Linked DNA regions of Homo sapiens: regions 1 and 2 are each linked to region 3. Evidence: promoter capture Hi-C in human tissues and cell types (Jung and others, 2019). All regions are on one chromosome and are shown on one strand. Each heading gives the region's core, a stretch centred on a gene start or on the middle of the fragment in contact. The rest is flanking DNA. Distances are from core to core; before and after follow the strand shown.

Region 1 (4,656 bases), core at 1,887-4,386, 45 kb before region 3:
TTTGTTTTGTTTTGCTTTGGGTTTGGGGGGGGGGGTTTGGGTTTGTTTTTGTTTTTGTTTTTGTTTTTGTTTTTGTTTTTGTTTTTGTTTTTTGAGATGGAGTCTCACTCTGTCGCCAGGCTGGAGTGCAATGGCGCAATCTTGGCTCACTGCAACCTCCGCCTCCCAGGTTCAAGCAAATCTTCTGCCTCAGCCTCCTGAGTAGCTGGGACTACAGGCACATGCCACCACACCCGGCTAATTTTTGTATTTTTAGTAGAGACGGGGTTTCACCATGTTGGCCAGGATGGTCTCGATCTCTTGACCTCGTGATCCACTCGCCTTGGCCTCCCAAAGTGCTGGGATTACAGGCGTAAGCCACCACGCCTGGCCACAAAAACATCTAGTATTTTTTTAAATGAAACACACAAAGAAACAGGAATGTATGCTCCTTAGACAAGGGAAAGAGCAGTCAATAGAAATCGTCCTTGCGGAAACCCAGATGGTGGATATAACTAAATAATGCCTTTAAATCAGCTATTAGAAATATGTTCAAAGAACTAGAGAACTGTCTAAAGAATTCAAGAACATTATGAGAATGATGTGTTCACAAATAAAGCACATCAATAAGGAGATATAACTATAAAAAAGAATCCAATTCTGGAGTTGAAAAGTAAAATACCTAAAACAACATTTTCATTAGAGGGTCTCAACAGTAGTTTCAAGCTGGCAGAAGAAAGAATGAGCAAACCTGAAGACAGATCTGTTGAAATCATCCAGTTTGAGGAACAGAAAGGAAAAAGAATGAAGAAAAATGAACAGAGCCTCAGAGACCTGTGGGACACCATTGGGTGCACTCATGTGTGCGTAAGAGGAGCCATAAAGGAAAAGTGAGAGGGGACAGAAAGAGTAGTTAAAGAAACAATAGCTGTATTCTCAAACAATAGCTCACGCCTGTAATCCCAGCATTTTGGGAGGCTGAGGTGAGTGGATTACTTGAAGCCAGGAGTTCAAGACCAGCCTGGCAATACCCCATCATGGCAAAACCCCGTCTCTACTGAAAATACAAAAATTAGCTGGCATCGTGGTGTGCACGGTGCACCTATAGTCCCAGCTACTTGGGAGGCTGAGACACAAGAATTGCTTTAACCTGGGAGGCAGAGGTTGCAATAAGCCAAGACTGAGCCACTGCAATCCAGCCTGGGTGACAGAGTGAGACTCTATCAAAAAAACAAAATAAAAAAAGAAAAAAGAAAAGGAAACAATAGCAAAACCTCCCCAAATTTGATGAAAAACATTAATCTACACATCCAAGAACTTCAAGTAACTCCAAACATGATAAACTCAAAGAGGTCCACACCTAAACACATCATAATCAAACTGTCAGAAAGCAGACAATCACTCATCACACACAAATAATCCTCAGTAGCAGCTGGCTTCTCATCAGGAACCACAATAACCAGAAGGCAGTGGGATATACAAACGCTAGGAAGAAGGACTGTCGACCAGCAATTCTACATCCCGCAAAACTATCCTTTAAAAATAGAGAAATTAAGTCATTCCCAGATAAACAGAAACAAACTGAATCTGTCACTAGCAGACACTCTCTACAAAAAATACTGAATAGACTTTTTCAGACTGAAATGAAAGGGCACCAGACAGCAACTGAAATCCATATGAAGAAATAGAGAGCACTGGTAAAGGTAGCTACACAGGTAAATATAAAAGACAGTACAGGCCAGGCGCGGTGGTTCATGCCTGTAATCCCAGCACTTTGGGAGTCTGAGGCGGGCGGATCACGAGGTCAGGAGATAGAGACCAGACTGGCCAACATGGTGAAACCCCGTCTCTACTAAAAATATAAAAATTAGCCGGGTGTGGTGGCACGTGCCTGTAATCCCAGCTACTTGGGAGGCTGAGGCAGGAGAATCACTTGAACCAGGGGGTCAGAGGTTGCAGTGAGCCGAGATCACAACACTGCACTCCAGCCTGGTGACAGAGTGAGACTCTGTCTCAAAAAAAAAAAAAAGACAGTACAATTGTATTTCTGTTTGTAACTCCTTTGTTCTCCTATCCAGTTTAAAAGACAACTACACTAAGGAATACAGTCATGGACTGTTAATGACAGAGATGCATTCCGAGAAATGCACCATTAGGTGATTTTGATATTGTACAAACAGCAGAGTGTACTTACGCAAACCTAGATCATACAGCCTACTACATACCAAAGCTATACAGTACAGCCTATCACTACAGGCTACAAACCTGTACAGCATGTTATCGTACTGAATACTCCAGGCAATCGTAACACAATGGTAAGTATTTGTATATCTAAACATAGAAAAGTAAGTAAAATTACAGTGTTATAATCTTATGGGACCACTGTAGTATATGCAGTCTGTCATTGACAGAAACATCATTACACAGCACATGACTGTAGTTATAAAACTGTGTTAATGAGCTTATAATGCACAAAAATGTAATTTGTATGACAATAATAGCATAAAGGAGGGGGAGGGCATAGAACTCTACATTAGAGCACAGTTTTTGTATATTTATGAAATTAGGTTGCTATTAATCAAAACTAGATTGTTATAAGGTAAAAAAAATTTAATTATAATGCCCAGGGCAACAACTAATACAATTTTTCAATATAGTAAAAGAAATGAAATTAAAATAGTGAACTAGAAAATATCTATTTAACACAAAAGAAGGCAGTAATAGAAGAAAAGATGGACAAAAAATATATAAGATATATAGAGAACAAAAAGCAAAATGGCAGATATAAATCCTACTTTGTCAGTAGTTATATTAAACATAACATGCTTAAACAGTACAGTCAAAAGAAGGCAGAGATTAAAATTTTTAATTTTTTAAAAATCCAATTATATGCTGTTTATAAAAGACACACTTTAGATCCAAAGAAACAAGTGGGTTGAAAGTAAAAGAATGAAAAAGATATACAAACAGTATCCAGACGCCAAAAGAGAGCTGTAGTCGCTATACCAGCATCAGAAAAAAATAGATTTGAAGACAAAAATTGTTACTAGAGAAAAGGAAGAATATTTTATAATGATAAAAAGCCCAGCAACAGATGGCTTCACTGGCGATTTGTATCAAACATTTCAAGAATTAACACCAGTCCTTGACAAACTCTTCCAAAAAGCAAAAGAGGAGAAAACACTTTCCAGCTCAGTCTAGGAGGCTTTGATACCAAAACCAGACAAAGCTATCACAAGAAAAGAAAACCACAGACCAATATTCCTTCTGAATATAGGCTCAAAATCCTCAAAAAAATACTAGCAAGTCAAATCAAGCAACAAAGGATTAGACACCATATAAAAAGGTATTATACACCATCACCAAATGGGATTGAACTCAGGAATGTAAGGTTGGTTCAACATACAATTAATGTAATATACCGTAATAATAAGGGGGAAACCATATGATCATCTCAACAGGCACAGAAAAGCATTTGACAAAATAAAACACCCTTTCATGATTTAAAAACACATACACACACACACCGGGTGCGGTGGCTCACGCCTGTAATCCCAGCACTTTGGGAGGCTGAGGTGGATGGATCATTTGAGGCCAGGAGTTCAAGACCAGTCTGGCCAACATGGCGAAAACTCTGTCTCTACTAAAAAAACAAAAATCAGCCAGGCATGGTGCTGCACATCTGTAATCTCAGCTACTTGGGAGGCTGAGTCACAGGAATCGCTTGAACCTGGGAGGCAGAGGTTGCAGTTAGCCAAAATTGCACCACTGCACCCCAGTCTGGGTGACAGAGCAAGACACTGTCTCTAAACAAAACAAAAAACACGTAACAAACTGGGAATAGAAGAGATCTTCTGAACCTGACAAAGAGCATCTCTAAAGGTCCCTCAGCGAGCTGGGCATGGTGGTGCACACCTGCAGTCCCAGCTATTTGGGAGGCTGAGGCAGGAGAATCACCTAAGCCCAGGCACTCAAGTCCAGCCTAGGCAATATAATGAGACCCTGTCTCTAAATAAACAAATAAATACATACATATTACAAATCCCACAGCTAACATCATACTTAATAGTGAAGGACTAAAAGTCTTCCTCCTAAGATTGGTCACAAAACAAGGACATTCACTCTTGCCATTTCTATTCAACATTATGCTTGAGGTTCTAGCTGGGGCAATGAAGCATGAAAAAGAAATAAAAGCATCCAGAACGGAAGGGAAGAAATAAAACTGTCTCTATTCACAGAGAAACATGATCTTGTGGCCACAAATCAAGGAAGCCAAAGGTTGCCAACAGCCACCACAAGCTACAAGAGGCAAGGAAGGATTCCCTGTTTCCTCTCCCTCACCAGAGCCTCCAGAAGGAACACAGCCCTGCCGACACCTGAATGTCAGATTTCTGACCCCCAGAGCAGTGAAAGGATACATTTCTGTTATCTTAAACCAAGAAGCTTGTGATAACTTGTTACTGCAGCCTCAGGAAATTAACACAATAATCAAAGTGCTTGAAACCAAAGACAAGAAACTTTCAAGCAATTGGGGTGGAGGAAAGGGCACATTATCTTCAAAGAATCAACAGTAATGCTGATAGCTGATCATTCAACATGGAGAAATTACACTGAGTAGTTATGTTGCTGAGATTATGAATGGGTTTCCATAGCTTCCTGCAACAGATTCAAAAATGC
Region 2 (4,832 bases), core at 1,604-4,103, 39 kb after region 3:
GATCCTCTGGACAGGTGCATATGGAATGCTGAGAATCCTACAACTTTCCTCCCACCCTTGTCCTAGAACACTAGCAGCCGGTCCTTCACTGTCAGGCAAGAGACTGGAAGAGGTTTCTTCAGGGAATCTTACCAGCCCAGGGAAAATGTCTTTATACAGAGACATTTCCCAAACCAATCCTCCCAGTCAAATGACCTTCAGGAAAGCTCTTATCACCAAGCGCCACTCACACACTCAGAAGGACCAATCCCATGAACAGGCAACCAAGGATTGTTAGACTTGGGAGGAAAGCAGCAAAGCTGAAACAAATGACTCAGGTAAAAGTAACTTGGAAGAAATAGAAACTATTTTAGGGGAGGAAAACTTTCTTTTTTTCAGAGATGGGGTCTCACTCTGTTGCCCAGGCTGGAGTACAGTGGCATGTTCATAGCTCATTGTAACCTTGAACTCCTGGGCTCAAGCAATCCTCTCGTCTCAGCCTTCCTAGAATCTAGCACTACAGGCATGCACCACCATGCCCAGCTAATTTTAAAAACAATTTTTTTGTACAGATGGAGTCTCTCCATGTTGCCCAGGCTGGTCTCGAACTCCTGGCCTCAAGCAATCTTCCTGCTTTGGTCGCCCAAAGCACTGGGGTTATAGGCATGAGCCACCACATACGCCCTAGGAAAAAATTTTAAAAGCTGCCATTGACATTCTTAGAGAAAGAAAAGAAGAAGATATTATACTCATGAAACAAGAACAGGACACTGCAAAAAATGAATATTCTGAGAATCTAAAAAGAGCTCTTGGAAACTAAAAACAGCAGAGATTTTAAACAATTAGTAGAAGAGCTGGAATATAAATTTGAGGAAATATACCAAAAGGACAGAGATGCAAAACAGAAGGTATGATGATTAATTTTATGCATCAATTTGGCTGGATCGTGGGGTGCCCACATATTTTGCTAAACATTATTCTAGAATGTGTCTGTTGAGGGTCCTCCCTGAGGAGATCAACATTTGACTCAGTAGCCTGAGTAAAGCAGATGGCCCTCCCCAATGTGGGCAGGCACCATCCAAATCTTGAGGCCCTGAATAGAACAGAAAGGTGGAGGAAGGGCAAATTTGCTGTGTGCCTGACTGCTTGAGCTGGACGTGGGTCTTTTTCTGCCCTCAGACTAGGACTGACAGGAACCCCATTAGCCCTTGGGTTCTCAGAGCTATACCACCAGCTTTCCTGAGTCTCCAGCTTTCAGACAGCAGATTGCGGGACTTCTCTCATGAGACACACACACACACACACACACACAGTTGGTTCTGTTTCTCTGGAGAGACTTCATACAGAAGTGGGGAAAAAAACAATGGAGCAGTTCAAGACATCCATTTATTTATTTATATATTTTATTTTATTTTTGTAGAGACGGGGTTTCACCGTGTTGCCCAGGCTGGTCTCAAACTCCTGGACTCAAGCAATCTGCCCACCTCAGCCTCCCAAAGTGCTAGGATTACAGGCGTGAGCCACTGCACCCAGCCTACATCCAGTTAACAGAAGGTCCAGAAAGACCAGAGAAAGTGGGGGAAGAGATTAATAAATAATTTGGGGAGTTTTTCAAAATTAAAGGACCTAAATTTTAAAAAGTACAAGGATCCACCAAGTACTTCTTCAGGCAAGCCATAAAAAGAGAGCCCTAATATGACACATCATCATGAAAAATGAGCCTCCAGGATGAAGAGAAGCTTCCAGGAAGAAGAAATGGCAGGAATAGCTCTGGACTTCTTGACAGCAACATTGACAGCCAGCAGGTGCAGGAGCAATGCTATGAAATGCTGAAGGAGAAGTGTTTCCAACCTAGGTTTCTTTGGGTGGTGTTGTTGTTGTTGTTATTATTGTTGTTTTGAGACAGAGTCTCGCTCTTGTCTCCCAGGCTGGAGTGCAGTGGCACAATCTCAGCCCACTGCAACCTCCGCTTCCTGGGTTCAAGCTATTCTCCCACCTCAGCCTCCCGAGTAGCTGGGACTACAGGCACGTGCCACCATCCCTGGCTAATTTTTTAATTTTTTGTATTTTTAGTAGAGACAGGGTTTTACCACGTTGCCCAGGCTCGTCTCGAACCGCTGACCTCAGGCAATCTGCCCTCCCAAAGTGCTAGGGCTACAGGTGTGAGCCACCACGCCTAGCCCCAACCTATATTTCTTTACCCAGCCAAGCTATCAGTCAAATGAGAGGATAGAATGAAGAGATTTTTAGACATGCAAGGTCTTGAAACACATATAGTCAGTCCTCATTATTCTTGGATTCCATATTTTTGAATTCATTTAATCAATAAAATATATTTGTAACCACCAAACTAGTATCCACACAGCTTTTGCAGTCATCTGCAGACATGCGTACAGCAGCAAAAATTTGAGTCACTTGATGTGCATGTTTCCAGCTAAGGTTGAAAAAGGTGACCCTCTGCCTTCTTGTTTTGACTCTGATGATGTAAACAAGTGTCCTTTTTGCAGTCTAGTTAGTGTCATGTTTTTCATATTTTTTGTGCTTTTTGTTGATATTTCACTGGATTGTTTTTTGTTTTGGTTTGGTTTTGCTTTTGGCTTTTTTTTTTTTTTTTTTGAAATGGAGTCTCGCTTTATCACCCGGGCTCGAGTGCAATGGCGCGATCTCAGCTCGCTGCAACTTCTGCCTCCCAGGTTCAAGCAATTCTCATGCCTCAGCCTCCCGAGTAGCTGGGATTACAGACATATGTCACTACACTTGACTAATTTTTATATTTTTAGTAGAGACGGGGTTTCACCATGTTGGCCAGGCTGGTCTTGAACTCCTGACCTCATGTGATCCACCCACCTCAGCCTCCCAAAGTGCTGGGATTACAGGCATGAGCTACTGTGCCTGGCCTGGATTTTTTGGTTGTTGTTGTTTTGTTTTGTTTTGTTTGAGACAGCGTCTCACTCTGTCACCCAGGCTGGAATGCAGCGGCGTGATCTCCACTCACTGTAACCTCCGCCTCCCAGGTTCAAGCAATTCTCTTGCCTCAGCCTCCCTAGTAGCTGGAGTTGCAGGCAAGCGCCACCACACCTGGCTAGTTTTTGTATTTTTAGTAGAGATGAGGGTTTCACCATATTGGCCAGGCTGGTCTTGAGCCACCGTGCCCAGCTGATTTCACTGTTTTAAATGACCCCCACCCCCAAGCGCAGTGCTGAAGGGCTGTTGATATGGTTTGGCTGTGTCCCCACCGAAATCTCATCTTGAATTCCCACGTGTTGTGGGAGGGGCCCAGTAGGAGGTAATTGAATCATGGGGGTAGGTCTTTCCCGTGCTGTTCTGGTGATAGTGAGTCTCACGAGATCTTATGGTTATTATAAGCGGAATTTTCCTTTCCTCTTTGTCTGCGACCATCCACGTGAGATGGGACTTGCTCCTCCATGCCTTCTACCATGATTATGAGGCCTCCCCAGCCACATGGAACTGTAAATCCAGTTAAACCTCTTTCTGTTGTAAATTGCCCAGTCTCAGGTAAGTCTTTATCAGCAGCATGAAAATGGACTAATACAGCTGTCTAGTGTTCCTAAGTGCAGGAAGTCTGGGGTATGCCTTACAGGGAAAGCCCACGTTAGAGAAGCTTCGTTCAGGCAGGAGTTAGAGTGCTGTTGGCCATGAGCTCAGTGTTAATGAGTCAACAATATATATTAAATAGGGTATCTTTAAACAGAAATATATATAAAACAAAGTTATGTGTTGATCAGTTGGTGACAACACTGTGACCCCAGACTCATAGGAATGGAACCCTGTATTTCCCTCTTGGAGCATTGGCTTAGTGTTGGGTAATTCAGCATTTTTGGTGACTTTATAGACCGTAACTGGTGTGAATAATGAGAATAGACTGCTTTCCTTACATGCTTTCTCTGAAGATTACTAGAGAAGATACTTCACTAGAATAAGGGCTAAATCAAGAAAGAGGAAAATATGGGATATGGGAAAAAGAGAAAGGCAAGGGGGATCCCAGGTTGCTGGAGGCGGGATGCCCTATAGGCATGGGGCACCAGGCTCCAGCTTCCCTGGGCAGATGGGCGTGAAGACCCCAGTGCATCTCGAAGCCCTGCGAGGAAAGGGCAGGACTGAACTAGCAACAATTGTCTAGAGAACGATGCAAAGGAGAAACCACGAAAATGATTTGCTGGGGTCGGGGTAGGGAGTGCGACTGTGCGGAAAAGGTTGACAAAGAGGACAGTCATTTATTTGCTGCTGGAAGCCATTTACATGAATTGACTCATTGAAAGCAAGGCCAGGTAGAAGGCAATCAACCAAGAGGCTGAAGAATTTGTCCAGGATCACACAGCTAAGTGGCAGAAGGAGGACTAGAACCCGGAAAAGTGGCTTAGAACTCCATGCCCTTCACCACTGACAATGCTGGTGTCCTAAAAACAGGTCTGAGGGTGGGGGGCAGGTGCGCACAGTGAGTAGGGGTCAGGAGGCAGCGATATCCTCACCTTCCAGAAACAGAGGTCAACCAATGAGGCTGACAACTAAAAAAAAAAAAAATCAAGATGGAGTCTCAGAGGCCAGGCAGAGTGGCTCATGCCTGTAATCCCAGCACTTTGGGAGGCTGAGGCAGGCAGATCACCTGAGGTCAGGAGTTCAAGACCAGCCTGAGCAACATGGCAAAACCCCACCTGTACTAAAAATACAAAAATCAGCCAGGTGTGGTGGCGGGCGCCTGTAATCCCAGCTACTCAAGAGGCTGAGGCAGGAAAATCACTTGAACCCAGGAGGAAGAGATTACAATAAGCCGAGATCATGCCACTGCACTCCAGTCTGGGCGACAGAGCAAAGACTCCGTCACAAAAAAAAAA
Region 3 (4,218 bases), core at 1,301-3,800:
CTTTGCCTGGCTGATTAATTTCCTCTGCCCCCGGTATTCATGATCAGTTCACAGGCCTGAAATTGGGAAAATGAAGTCATTTTGATAGACTAAAAGATGATTGCACTTTGGGGAGGGTTTTCTTTTTTTCCAGAAGTCCAGACCCGCACCCAGAATGCTGATTTTTCTCCTTAATGCTGCCCTTCACGGAATCCCAGCGACCACCGTCATTCCTCAAACAAGCAGAGAGAGATGTGTCCTGTATAAAGTGAGCATACCAAGGCCCGTACTGCCTAGTTGGGAAGGTAGCAAAGTTCAAAGAAGAACAAATGAACTTAAGCCACATTCATTGGATGAAGATTTAAGAGTCTCATGGGTGAGCTGGGAATTTATTAAAAGCAGGCTTTTCAAGAACGATGATTCCCTACATCAGTCTGTGTATTCCTGACAGTTGGGGCTCAAGTAAAACACCCTAAAATTCTTATTGTTCGCCTAGATCTAAACCTGTCCTATCTGTCTACAGGCATAGCCCACGGGGCATCAGCCAGGGTGGATGTGAGTGATTCTAAGCGTACCACGGGGTGGTTACATCAGAGGTACCTCCTCGGCCATGTAGGTGACTCTCTGAACCCATCCACATCACCAGTACAGGGACCTCATTCAATCCAGGTCTTCCGAAATTCCTGGGGCCGAGAAATAAATAGGAAGGCAGTCCCACACTGAAACACTTCCGAACACACGATTAAGCCTCCGTGACTGGATTATCGCCTTTTGACTAGCCATCGCCCAATTAATGTACCTCCAGTGAGCAAGCACTAGAATCGATGGAACCATTCCACCGAAATCCATCTCCAGAAAAAGATTTTACAAGTGTTGTGGGGCTGCCACTCAGAAAGCCAATTTGCAAGGAGCCCAGCACGGTGAAGCGCAGTTTATCATGCGTGGTTCCCACACAGAGGGCCCCTGCAGACTGCGCCTGGCTCCAGAATGCCTCCCTAGCACCACAAGCTCAAACGCATTGAGGTTCTCCCCTGCCTCAGCCCGGCCGAATCCATCAGCACCCTCCCCAAATAGTCTCTTAGAGCCCTGGCTCCTGTACACCAAGATCTGGCTTCCGACTGGACGTGGCAGTCAGCTGGTGGCCTCTCCAACATCGCCCTGTGCCAGGTTTCTCACCAAGTTGGTTTAATTTTTTTTTTTTTTTTGCAAAGTCCAGTCAGATTATTGACAGTGCCTGTCTGCCTGACCCGCCCCCGCCCCCCGGCGCCGCAGATCCCTGCTAACAAGTCTCCCAGTGCCATTCAACTCCCGTGAGCCAGCTCCGCCATTCAACAGCCAGCCCACTTTTGTTCCCCCAGTTTAATTTCATAATTGTTTGCCACTTAACAAGCTCTCCTCTGGGCCATTCAATAGAGCAGGGGAAATGGGGAGGGGGAAGGCAAAGAAACTCTGGGAGGGGAGCTGGGAGCCAGGCCAGCCCAGCACTGGGGAAGAGACATCCCAGAGAGGTCAGCTGGACAGGGGTGGGGGCCAGTTCCGGAGTGGAGCCTCCTGACACCAACTGGGCCACCCAGCTTGAGCCCGGAGAGGTGGGAGGGAAAGGAGCAGGGTGAGTTCCGAAGGCCAGGCCGGGGCCTGCCAGACTCCTGGGCACATCAGTGCTCTGAATGACACGCCTCTGGCCCTGCCAGGGTGAAGGGAGACAGCATGAATTCACGCTCCCGTAACATGTCCCAGAACAAACACACAGGAGACAGAACTGCTCCTTAGTTTGGGCATTCCATGATCAACATTCCCTTTGAGGGCTGGGACCTGTCTAGGTAGCCACTGAATCCCCTGGCCGAGCACATAGCAGACAGGAATAAATATGTGTTGAGTGAGTGGATGGATGGATGGATGGATGGATGGATGGATGGGAGGGAGGGATGAATGGATGGAAGGAAATGGATGAAGTTTCCAGCAATACCTAGCAAAAGTGGCCACTCGGCCAGCGTTCGTTCCCTATCTCTTCCCCCCCAAGTGCCAGCAGGGGCTTGGCAGCGCACACAGTAGGCTCTCTACAAGCGGGGGCTGCTATTGTTACCACTATCATCATCACTGGCACTCCACCAGCCCGCTGCTTCCACCAGCTACTCCGCCAGCAGCAGCAGCGACTGGCGAGCAAGGGAAAAGTTTCGCTGACCCCGCGGCCCCAGCCGGAGTCCCGCGCCCTGGCGGAGCCCCCTCCCGCCGCCGCCCGCTAGGCAGGCGGGGCAGCTGGGGTGCCCAGCCCGCTTCCCGCACCCGGCAAAGGCGGCCAAAGTAACTTTGCGGGCGCCCCTGCGCAGCGCCGCGGGCGTCGCCCAGCGCCTGGAGAGGGTCCCGGCCGCGCCCCGCGCCCGGCCTCCCGCCCGCGCCCGCCGCGCCCCGCCCGCCTCCGGTCCTACCTGGCCCCGGGCTCCTCTTCGGCGGCCGCGGCGGCTGCGAGCAGCAGCGCGCACCGAGGGAGGCAGGGGCTCCCGGGAGGGAGGCGCGCAGGGGCGGGGGCTCCTCCGGCGGCGGCCGCCTCGCCGCGCGTCCGAGGCTGCAAGTGGGAGCCAGACTCCTCCTTCGTGGGGCGGGGGGCTCCCCGCGCCCCCTCCGCCGCCCGCCCGCGCGCCGCGAGGCTCCGAGCCTCCTTGGCTCCCCCCGCCCGCCGCCGCCCGCCTCCCCACGCCCGCCCTCCCCGCCTCTCCGCGCCCGGCCGCCGGGAGGGGCGCGCTCGCGGCCTCGGTCCCGGCCCTTGCGCCGCCACCCGCCGGGGCCCCCGCCAGGCCCGCCAGGCCTCGGCCCTCGGCCCCCGCCCGGGCTCGGAGTCCGCATCCCGCTGCGGAGGGACAGGGAGCGCGGCCGCGGGCCTGGACGCGGGAGGAGGAGCGGGGCCCGCGCTGCGGAAAAGGGAGGGGGCCGCCCCACTGCGCCCGGCGCCCCTCTTGGCGCCCGCCCCCAGCCCCGGACCGGGCCGCGCGCGGGCTGGGCAGGGAGCGGGGCGGGGGCGCTCTCACCTCCGGATCCGTGGCCTCCGCAGCGGGCACCGCGTGCAGGGGCGTGCGCGGCTCCTTCCGGGGCGCCGCAGCCTTCGCCCGAGGCCCGGACCCCCTCCTGGGGCCGCCGGGGCACCCTGCTGTGGGCCCCTCCCGCCCGGGGTCTGGAAGGTCCCCCTCCGGAGACGGAGACACTCTGACCCCAGCTCCCAGTCTGAATAGGTCGGGGTCCTCCTCCTGGGCCACCATCTCTTCCACTCGGGAGTCACAGGTCCCCAATCCCGGGCACAGCAGGTAGCCTGCAGCGGCCGGAGCCCCAACGGGATGGGTAAACAAGTCAGGAACTCAGACGGCGCGACACCCAGTGTAAAGAGGCCCTGCCTTGCTGGGAAGAGCAGAGACCATCGCCTTCAGTGTCGGGGGTCACCCTGGGGAGTTTAAGGCCCTGTGGCTTCCAGCCCCTTGCCGCGGGTGGGACGGGGATTCCAGGGCCTTGTATAGTTAGGGTGCAGATCACTCTGGCCTGGGCCTCCCAGACTGAGAGGAAGATGAAAAGGGGCTGTGGCTCCTCAGAGGCCCAAAGCCCCTCAACAAATGCTTGTAGGGTCTCCCTTCACCAACACACACATCACACAATCCCCAAGGACACCCTCTGCGGGCCCCTCAGGCCTATTCTGCCCCTGAGGACTGCTATCTGGTGTGGCTTCCTGGAGGTGGGGACAGCCCAGTTGAATGAGTGTATGCCAGGAGAGAAGGCCTGGAAAAGACATCCAGGCCGAGGGAATGCGGCATGCAAAGGCCTTGGCATGTGAGTTCATTGGGGCTAGAGACAAAGGAAAAGCAAGGGAGGGAAGATGAGGTGGCAAGGCTGGGAGTGAGGGAACAGAAGCCAGATCGGGAAGAGCCTTGGATAGACTTTATCAGGGGCAGTGGGAGCCATAGAGGGTTTTTAAGCAGGGCTGTGACTTGGTCACGTTTATCTTTTTACAGCTTGTTCTGGCACCTCTAAAGACAGAGGTAGAGGGGGAGAGGCTGGGCTATGGAGGGAGAGGATGGAGGCCTGGGGCCCTCAGGCCAGAGATGGGGGGCAAGGGCTGGCCGAGGAGTCCTGAGGCAGTCACCCCCTCCTGCTTCCTTGTCTTTAGACCCCAATTCTCTCTCAGGGAATCCCAAACTCAACCCGGGAGCCTCTTTCTCCTCCTAGGCTACAGGCTTCCTGAGCACCGTGACTTCGAGG

What was found. The method cuts DNA at HindIII sites, captures the fragments that hold promoters and counts their contacts. A contact is called where the count stands out against the background at its distance.
Region 1: a fragment that was not itself captured here is called in contact with the fragment with the promoter of MPPED1 in region 3 in 2 of the 25 tissues and cell types used here (aorta and dorsolateral prefrontal cortex).
Region 2: a fragment that was not itself captured here is called in contact with the fragment with the promoter of MPPED1 in region 3 in 8 of the 25 tissues and cell types used here (IMR-90 fibroblasts, adrenal gland, dorsolateral prefrontal cortex and 5 more).

Annotation. Positions count from the first base shown.
Region 1 is chr22:43,455,643-43,460,298 of GRCh38, reverse strand. All of the region lies in intron 3 of MPPED1 (metallophosphoesterase domain containing 1), which reads right to left. Among named protein-coding and RNA genes, the nearest start is that of MPPED1, 46 kb to the right of the region's middle. The HindIII fragment of the contact is 9,403 bases long and covers 1-4,656 here.
Region 2 is chr22:43,370,600-43,375,431 of GRCh38, reverse strand. It overlaps LOC105373053 (a long non-coding RNA gene), which reads left to right. Exons shown (of 4, transcript XR_938288.3): 4 at 1,400-1,438. Among named protein-coding and RNA genes, the nearest start is that of LINC01639, 27 kb to the left of the region's middle. The HindIII fragment of the contact is 5,607 bases long and covers 50-4,832 here.
Region 3 is chr22:43,410,346-43,414,563 of GRCh38, reverse strand. MPPED1 (metallophosphoesterase domain containing 1) reads right to left here and starts at 2,550. Exons shown (of 7, transcript NM_001044370.2): 1 at 2,406-2,550. The HindIII fragment of the contact is 18,974 bases long and covers 1-4,218 here.